3 separate regions of the Homo sapiens genome follow, and regions 1 and 2 are each linked to region 3. The links are contacts of gene promoters, found by promoter capture Hi-C in blood cells and fetal thymus (Javierre and others, 2016). All regions are on one chromosome and are shown on one strand. Each heading gives the region's core, a stretch centred on a gene start or on the middle of the fragment in contact. The rest is flanking DNA. Distances are from core to core; before and after follow the strand shown.

Region 1 (2,700 bases), core at 14-2,513, 1.2 Mb after region 3:
ATCATTAGAGAAATGCAAATCAAAATCACAATGAGATACCATCTCACACCAGTCATAACGGCAATTAATACAAAGTTAAGAAACAAGAGATGCTGGCAAAGTTGCAGAGAAATGGGAACGCTTTTACATTGGTGGGAATGTAAATTAGTTCAACCATTGTGGAAGACGGTGTGGCAATTCCTCAAATATCTAGAACCAGAAATACCATTTGACCCAGCAATCCCATTACTGGGTATATACCCAAAGGAATATAAATCATTCTATTACAAAGATACACGCACACGTATATTCATTGCCGCACTATTCACAATAGCAAAGACGTGGCATCAACCCAAATGCCCATCAGTGATAACATTAAGAAAATGTGGTGCATATACACCATGAAATACCATGCAGCCATAATAAAGAATGAGATCATGTCCTTTGTAGGGACATGGATCGAGCTGGAAGCCATTATCCTCAGCAAACTAATGCAGCAACAGAAAACAAATACTGCATGTTCTCCCTTATAAGTGGAAGCTGAACAATGAGAACACATGTACACAGGGAGGGGAAAAACACGCACTGGGACCTGTCAGGGGTTGTGGGGGGCGGTGAGGGAAAGCCTTAGGAAAAATAGCTAATGCATGCCAGGCTTAATACCTAGGTCATAGGTTGATTGGTGCAGCAAGCCACCACGGCACACGTTTGCCTATTTAACAAACACGCACATCCTGCACATGTATCCTAGAACTTAAAAAAAAAAAAAAGAAAATGAAAATTAAGGGCTGGGAGGGAGGACTCGAAGGAACACAAAGTTTGTGGAATCGATTAGTATGTATCCTCCTATCTCAGTCTTGACTCTCTTTGCTGACTTTCCTACCCTGGGCCCCACCCCGAGACCGCCCATTTCAGTGGGCCTCTGTGTTTGGAGAACGAACTTCGAAAGACTGGAACACTTCCGCCTGTCAGGCCAGAAGAGATTTCCTGACACCACAGCTGGAAACCCATGTGCATTTCAGTTCAGGAAAGAATGGTAGGCTTGGTGGGGGGAGCTCCCGCAAAAGGGGAACTAATACAGAAACACTCTGGTATTTGTCTGCCTCTCTTGTTCCAGCGCCGTTTTCCCTATATCCGGAATTCGTCCCTGCGCATTCCAATACCTGAAGCGGCCACAGGGTACAGGACAGGGAGCCCTCCGACAGAAAAGAGTCGCGGCGCTAAACAAAGCCTGATATCACTCCGCTTCCATAAGCCGGATCCCCATAAACTACGCTCTAGCTCCTCCCACTGCCGTTGTGGGTAACGCGGACGTGGAAGAACCTCGTCTGCGGAGGAAAAGGTAGATGTTAAATGGTAACTACGCGCGAGGTTCTGAGGAGCCCTGGGAACAGGAAGGAGAAAAGAATACCAAAAGTGACAACAGTTTGCCAATCGCAGTCTTTAATCTGATAAAGCGGTTATCTCGTCTTGAGTCCCAGGTGCCGAGTCAATCCCCATACACAGCCGCCGCCATTGCCTCGAGTCCTTGTGTCTGACTGTCTGTTCCTGCTGCTGTATGACACAGCACCTCGAGGCAAGGAAATAAGAAAACTGCCTCTGATCCAAGCAGAGAAGGTCAGTGAGAAGGTGCGCATCGCTTGGGGGTGGATGTGGGTATCAGAGGTGAACACTGGATACGCGACCTGGTCATGGGAGGCGGGCGGTGAGAAGGAGAGAGAGATGGGTAATTGGAATGGCACACAACAATTAAAAAAAAATGATCTACCTTTTGCTAGCTTGATTTCCATACACTCGGTTCACCTCAGACCATGCTTGGGAAGAAAAAGGTTGCAGCTTCTAGCAGGGAAAAGGCAGACTAGATGAGGAAGAGAGGGCTACTTCCACAGGCGAGGACAGTTGTCTGGGGAGCCCTGAGAGGGAGAGAATGTAAAAAGAGGTTGTAAATGTTTGATAATCAAGGCTCTGGATTTGAAAAGGGTCTCATGTCTTGGTTACTGGTCTGACCATTAATAACCACGTCTCTCTCTCTGTCTTTTCATTTGTTCTTTGGGTGTGTATCACGCGTTTTTATGTGTAAATCTGTTCCTAAGTTTGCAGCACTCCATGTTTCTGTAAAGATCTGTAGGGGACAGCAGACCTCAAGGGGAGAGGAGAAGGAAAAGAAAATTGGCCTGGTTTGTACAGAGTGGGCAGTACTTGGGAGGCAGTACTTGGAGGTGGTAGATGGCTAAGATTAGAGTAGGCAGGAGTGTAAGGGAGCCTCCAGAACTCTCTGCCAGCTTTCCTAACATGTCCTCCCTTACCCGCATTATGTTGCAGAAAATGATAGGCTTTGGGAGAGAGGAAGGAAACATAGGAACCCAGATGAAATATGGAAATAAATACTTTTCATTTTTTCCCCAGCCTCCGTGGTTTGTCTAGGCATTTCGTCCCTACTAACACCACTACTACTACCTTGTAGGGATGTTTGAGTTGTCTCTGTATAGGAATTGTCAGACTTTGAGAATAGAGCAGAGGGGCTTGGAGATTTAGGAGTGGGAGAAAAAGGGGAGATAGAAAATGTTTGCCAAACAGGTACTTATATCCAGAAAGAAACTGTGCCCTAGGTGCTGGTCTCTACCAAAAACAGCCTCAACTGTCTCCTGTGTCTTCATTTATTGGTCTCTGTTTTTGTGAATCCCTGTAGGTAGATCTGTCCCCAGGTCTGTGGAACTGTCA
Region 2 (2,700 bases), core at 5-2,504, 1.8 Mb after region 3:
CATCCTCCAAAGGGCGATCTTCCTCGGCCTTTGGCATGTTCTGTGGTTTTCCCTCATTTTCTTCACAAGACTTTTGCATATTGAGTATTTTTTATTTCCTTTTTGAATAAATTAATCCTAGAAAACAAGGAAACAAAACTACTAGATTCCAGGCAAACAGACCAGCAGTCAGAGTATGGGGTCCCATAGCGACTGGCCTTTTTTGACTCAGTACCCTAATTGTCAAAAGTTTTCCAACTAGAGAAAGCTGGATCCTCAGGCTCAGAACTCCCCTGACTCCACCTCCCTTCGCGCCCCCTTTCGTTCCAGCTCCATCTTTCTCCTCCTGCTCCTGCCCACCATCTTCCCAGCAGGCCCTGCTACAAGCCTCTCCTAATACTGAAATGGGAGCAGTACGGAAGCAATTAACCCTTCTCCCGCCTCTGGTCTCCAACACTCCCGCCCTTCAGACTTTCCCAGGCCCTCTCAACCTCCAGCCTCTCACCTGAGACGGCTGGTCCAGTCTCTGGCCTCCCCTCCCCCTTCAGCGTCTCTTAAGCCTCCTCCTCCCCCGCCTCATTTCCGCTGCAGGCTCGGCACCGGCCTCTGGCACTTAATCCGGATGGGGAGGGGCTGCTGCGACCCCAGGATGTGCTTTGGTGTCACTCACACTTCCACCCCCACCCGAAGAGACCTGAAGCAATTGCACCTTTACAAAAACTGACCTGCAGGGATTCAGGGGATTTTCCTCTCTCTTCCCTCACCTCGATTTGTGTCGCGCCCAAAAAACCAAATATCCTGCAGACAGATGGGAGTGTTTGGTGAGCAGACTAGTACCTGGATCACGGGTCCCTTTCATGATTCTAGGCCATGTTGGTGTAAAGTTTCCCATGTCCTCATCCTCGCCCTCCTTTTATGGCAACCCCGCCCTCCTCCGTGCCCACCGTTTTTCTGCAAGCAGGGAGTAGGAAAAGCAAGTTTCTTCCAAACAGTTTCTATGTCTCTCTCTCAGGACCCTTAATTAGCTACCCTTCTCTCTCTCCACCCGCCATCCCCCACCAAACAGCCCCAAATTTCCTGCACAAAATGGGAGTTTGGCGGAACAGAAGTGGGGAAAGCAGTGCCGGCCCCGCTTGCTTTCTGCTCTCGGCCTCCTCGACCCCAGGGTCTCCAAGTCAGCGCCCACGTTTATACTAACCTGAAAGGATCTTGGGCACTTTTCTCCTTCTCCAGCAATAAGGAGCTGCTACAGGGAAACAGGCCCTGGACTATAAGGACTTCTGCACACGTCGACTCCTGGTCACGTGAGAGTCGCGTCATCACTGAGCTCGAGTCCCCAGTTACCCCTCCCATTAACACTGCAGCCCGCCCGCTGCGTTCCCTCCACTTGATACTGTCAATCTTTTTTCGTATTTGCCAATCGGAGACAATAAACTGTTATCTTCGCCCTGGAGTATTTATTCGCCTTTCTCAGATTACCAGGAGGATCAGCCTTTTAGGGGTAATCGACCATTTCTCCTTCTTTGAGGAATCATCTCTTTCTTCTGCTCCCAATACTCCCACCTCCCCTCCTCCAAGACCCCTACAGTCCACCATTTCCCCTGGAATCCTATCCAGCATTGAAATGGGCAAAGGTGGTAGATCGGGAAGAGGGGGCTGGAAAAGAATCTAAGGTTGAAAGTGGAGGATTTGACTAATCCTCTTGAATAGTTTTCTGTTGTGTTCTATGTTTTCAGCAATCAGCATACTTTTAAAAATGGTATCAGAAAACGGATGCCTCATAAGCAATATGTAACACTTAATATGAAGGACAAATTAGTTATATCAATGTGTAAGACTTTGGAAAAGTTTTCTAATGGCTGGAAATGAAATGACAATATTCACAACATATTGATGTGTTAGAATTTTTTAAAATCTTACCAAACAGCACTTAAAAAATTGACTCCCAAATTAATGTGTGGAAGGAGGCCTAGTTTTCTCTTGTTAGCAATTTTGTATAGGTAATCTACTACTCTTTCTATTTCTGGCAGAACTCAAGTTATCAAGTGTTGGATGTCTGATCTTTTTCATTGATGACCACTGGTGGCATCCACTAAGGTTTCACTTGGAGGCTTCAGACAGACTTCCTCCCCATTTCCTCTATAGGATTCAGTATCTTGTTAATCAGATAAGTCCACAGAAAAGCCTGCTTTCCACTGAGTAAAATTCTTTTGGAACTCAAAGTAGTATGTTTCTTGGAAAACATTTCGTTGTTGGGAAATAACTCATACACTCATGAAACACTCAGAAAAGAGAATTCTCTGTATCTCACCATCAGGCTTGAGGCTTCTTTGCATGGCATTTTCATTCATGGCACTCTTGAGATAGTCTGGTATCATCCACTGTGTCCCATTAAAAGAACTATTGACATGCATAATTGTTATGATTAGAAAGCAAAGAGAACAACATTGCTGTAAAAAATAATATTAAACAGGAAACTGATATCCCTGCAACTCAGAATCCACTGGTACTTGGAAGGATGGTGGTGCCTGGAGTGGCATTCTGGCCAATGGAGCCAGCTGGAGAGTCAGAAGAAGACAGAGGGGGTCTTTTGTCTAGGGTGGTCACAGCAGGATGCCTTAGCCAACAAGAACACCCACCAGAGAAGAGAAAAGAAGGTTTGGAAAAAATAAATATTTTTTGGACTTAATGATTTATAGTTGAAGCATGACAAATTTCTTC
Region 3 (2,700 bases), core at 66-2,565:
ACAAGGCCAATTTCTTCTGTGATGTCTGACCAACATCCTGACTTTATCTATAAAGATATTCATAGGAATAACTTATGGACACAGAAATGTACTGTGACTGCCACCTTTTACCAACATCTATCAGTGATTCCTAACCTTTTTTAAATCACAGAGCCCTTTGAGAATTTGAAGAAAGGTAAATATCCTCTCTCCAGAAAAATACACATATTCATTCAGATTTGTAGATTTACATTCATTTTCCCATTGAACATTTGCTCTGTAAGCGCAGTTGAATGGTCAAGCGCTGTGCTATGTACTTTAAATAGGTTATCTCCTTGAAAACTCACCTGTGTGAGATAAGAACTATTTTTCAGATTTTTTTTGTCAGCTCCCTGAAATTAAAAGGTTGTAATCCCAATTTACAGATAAGGATTGTGAGGGTCAGATATGTTCAATACCTATCTAATCCAGCCTCAACCCTCACGCAAAGGTGTAAATGTATAAAGTTCCTCCATGTCAACCTTCCAGCCTGATGCCACGCTCATGGGCGAGGTGGGAGAGATCTCAGCGACCTTATGGTCTCTCTAACTCCCTCGAGATACTGCCGAGAAATCCACGACCCCAAAAGGAGAAAAAATGGCACGAATCTTAGTTCCCCATTCCTCCTACCCACCCTAGATGTTCTAACGGTTAGCACCCGGCAGAGGAAGAGCAGAAGTTCACAAGAAGGGTCTGAATAGAACCGGGCAGGGCTACTTTGGGCACACTGCCTATGGGGTGGCCCTGCTCTGCAAGGAGCAGTGAAAAAAGAGAACCGGGCAGGGAGAGAGAGAAAGAGAGAGGAAAGAAGAGAAAGAGAAAGAGAAGGAGAACGAGAGAGAGAGAGAGAGAGAAAGAAACAGGGGCCGCTGGCCGGACTCCCATCCCAGGAAAGGTCACACAGAGAAAGTTTAGGGCTAGTCCTGATTCGGGACAGTTTGCTGGGGATAAAAAAGCAGCAGCAGAGTCGGGTGGGGGAGCTCTCCCTCGGGCTCAACTGTTCCCGTTGAGACTCTCCAGTTCCCCAAACACACCCAAACACATGGAAAAGCAAAGGGAAGGGAGTACCCAATATCTGATACCTGATGCAGGAATCTGGCTCTTCCTGGCAGTCAAGGTTGCACATGAAGCGCTCCCAGTGCAGCCAGCCCATGGTAGGCGTCCTTGCCAATCCATTGTCCAGTGCTCTAGCCCCAGGGATGTCCCAGGAAACGAGGGCCAGGAAGCGAAGCGCAAGCGCGCAGCCCAGATGTAGTTCTGGGTTCCTCAGCTGCATTGTCACGGTGACCGGACAGCATAAATTTCCGCGGGTAACCTGGGCTTTTAAGATTAACCTCAGGGGCGGACCAATCACCGATGACTTATTAAATAATGACGTTATTGTTTCTCTGGCAACTGGGACGGTTATCCCCAGAGGTAGACCAATAATCAGTCACGTAAGACGTTCCGCTAACCAATCACCCTCTTCCTTTCTTGATATTGACCCGCCCTATTTCCATACCAGAAGGAAGTGCGGCACCTTAGTGATCCCGAGTTTAAGCCGAGAGTTGCTCACGTGACCGAGATCTCACATGACGTAGGCGCTCACGTGATTACTCGCTTACGTGAGCAGAAGTAGTTCTGGTCGTCGTCTACCGTCTCGCTATAGCCGTTTGAGGGAAGAAGGAGGAAAATTACCCGGTATCGTTAGAGGTTGGTGTGTGGGTGGGAACTGGGGACCCAGGGGTGGTGATGATGAAGACCAGAGCGGGGTTCGGGGGCCGCCTCCGCCTCTTTCGTTCTCTGCTTTCCCCTCCCCCCTCGCGCTCTCTCCCTCCTCCCCCCCATCTCAGTGCCGGGAAGCCGCCTGTGCTGCGCCTGGTGGGGAAATGGTGGACGCTCATGACTGTGTATGTGTTTTTGTATATCTGTCTGTCTGGGCCGGTCTCGGGGGACCCCTAAGGGTGACCGTAAGGCGAAAAACGTTTGAAAACCACGGCCCTGAGTTAAGAAAAACAGATACTGAAAATAGTGGTCTGAGTGCTGGTCTATCCATTCAGGCACTCAGTCTCCACTGCCTGATTGTCTGTAAGGGGAGGCCCCAAGTGAATTTTATCTGTAGAGTCACATCTAGGCAAATGCGTGCTTGACAAAGGCGCCCAATAAATTACTTTACTGAATAGAGTATTTGAATAATGTTTATTTTTCTGCTGATAACAACAATCTACATATTCAATTTCGAACATTTGAAAAATAACAATATAGTATAAAATTTAAAAATACACATAATTCACCACCCGGAGACGACTGCTCAACCTGATGTCGTTACAGTTTTTTAAAAAATGTGTATAACACACATATAAATACACAAATTCTTAACTCACAAAGAGTCCTGGTTCCCACTTTAGCCAGCAGTCCTGATGGCCTTCCCAGGAGACGCAGTAATGAAGTAGAACCTCTCTGCCCCTACAGAAGGGCTCTTAAGGAATAGAGCGGTGCAGGGAATTAAATGGGACGGGTTATCCCAGGGATAAGGCAAGCAAAAAAAAAAAAAAAAATCCTGCAAAATGAAATAAAAAAACAGCTTGTAAATCTGTCACTGAGACCTTAGGATGGTTAATAGGAAAACTGTTATCACTGCAGATGCAGTGTGCTAGGCACATAATCGGCAATCAGTAAATGTTTGTTAAATCGTTTCCTCAG

Evidence for each region. The method cuts DNA at HindIII sites, captures the fragments that hold promoters and counts their contacts. A CHiCAGO score of 5 or more calls a contact.
Region 1: a contact is called between the fragment with the promoter of ARMCX5 here and the fragment with the promoter of GLA in region 3, in 1 of 17 cell types (monocytes). The highest score is 6.2, in monocytes.
Region 2: the fragment with the promoter of TCEAL8 here is called in contact with the fragment with the promoter of GLA in region 3 in 1 of 17 cell types (fetal thymus); the score reaches 5.2 in fetal thymus.

The regions. Positions count from the first base shown.
Region 1 is chrX:102,598,252-102,600,951 of GRCh38, forward strand. It overlaps ARMCX5 (armadillo repeat containing X-linked 5), which reads left to right and starts at 1,264. Exons shown (of 4, transcript NM_001168478.2): 1 at 1,264-1,596; 2 at 2,669-2,700. It overlaps ARMCX5-GPRASP2 (ARMCX5-GPRASP2 readthrough), which reads left to right and starts at 1,264. Exons shown (of 19, transcript NR_146584.3): 1 at 1,264-1,596. RefSeq lists enhancers at 1,310-2,081, 1,514-1,563. The HindIII fragment of the contact is 9,703 bases long and covers 1-2,700 here.
Region 2 is chrX:103,253,901-103,256,600 of GRCh38, forward strand. TCEAL8 (transcription elongation factor A like 8) reads right to left here and starts at 1,255. Exons shown (of 3, transcript NM_153333.3): 1 at 1,178-1,255; 2 at 705-777; 3 at 1-117. The coding sequence starts at 79. RefSeq lists an enhancer at 1,192-1,241. The HindIII fragment of the contact is 6,472 bases long and covers 1-2,700 here.
Region 3 is chrX:101,406,610-101,409,309 of GRCh38, forward strand. GLA (galactosidase alpha) reads right to left here and starts at 1,316. Exons shown (of 7, transcript NM_000169.3): 1 at 1,101-1,316. The coding sequence starts at 1,294. All of the region lies in intron 3 of RPL36A-HNRNPH2 (RPL36A-HNRNPH2 readthrough), which reads left to right. It overlaps HNRNPH2 (heterogeneous nuclear ribonucleoprotein H2), which reads left to right and starts at 1,613. Exons shown (of 2, transcript NM_019597.5): 1 at 1,613-1,710. The HindIII fragment of the contact is 11,084 bases long and covers 1-2,700 here.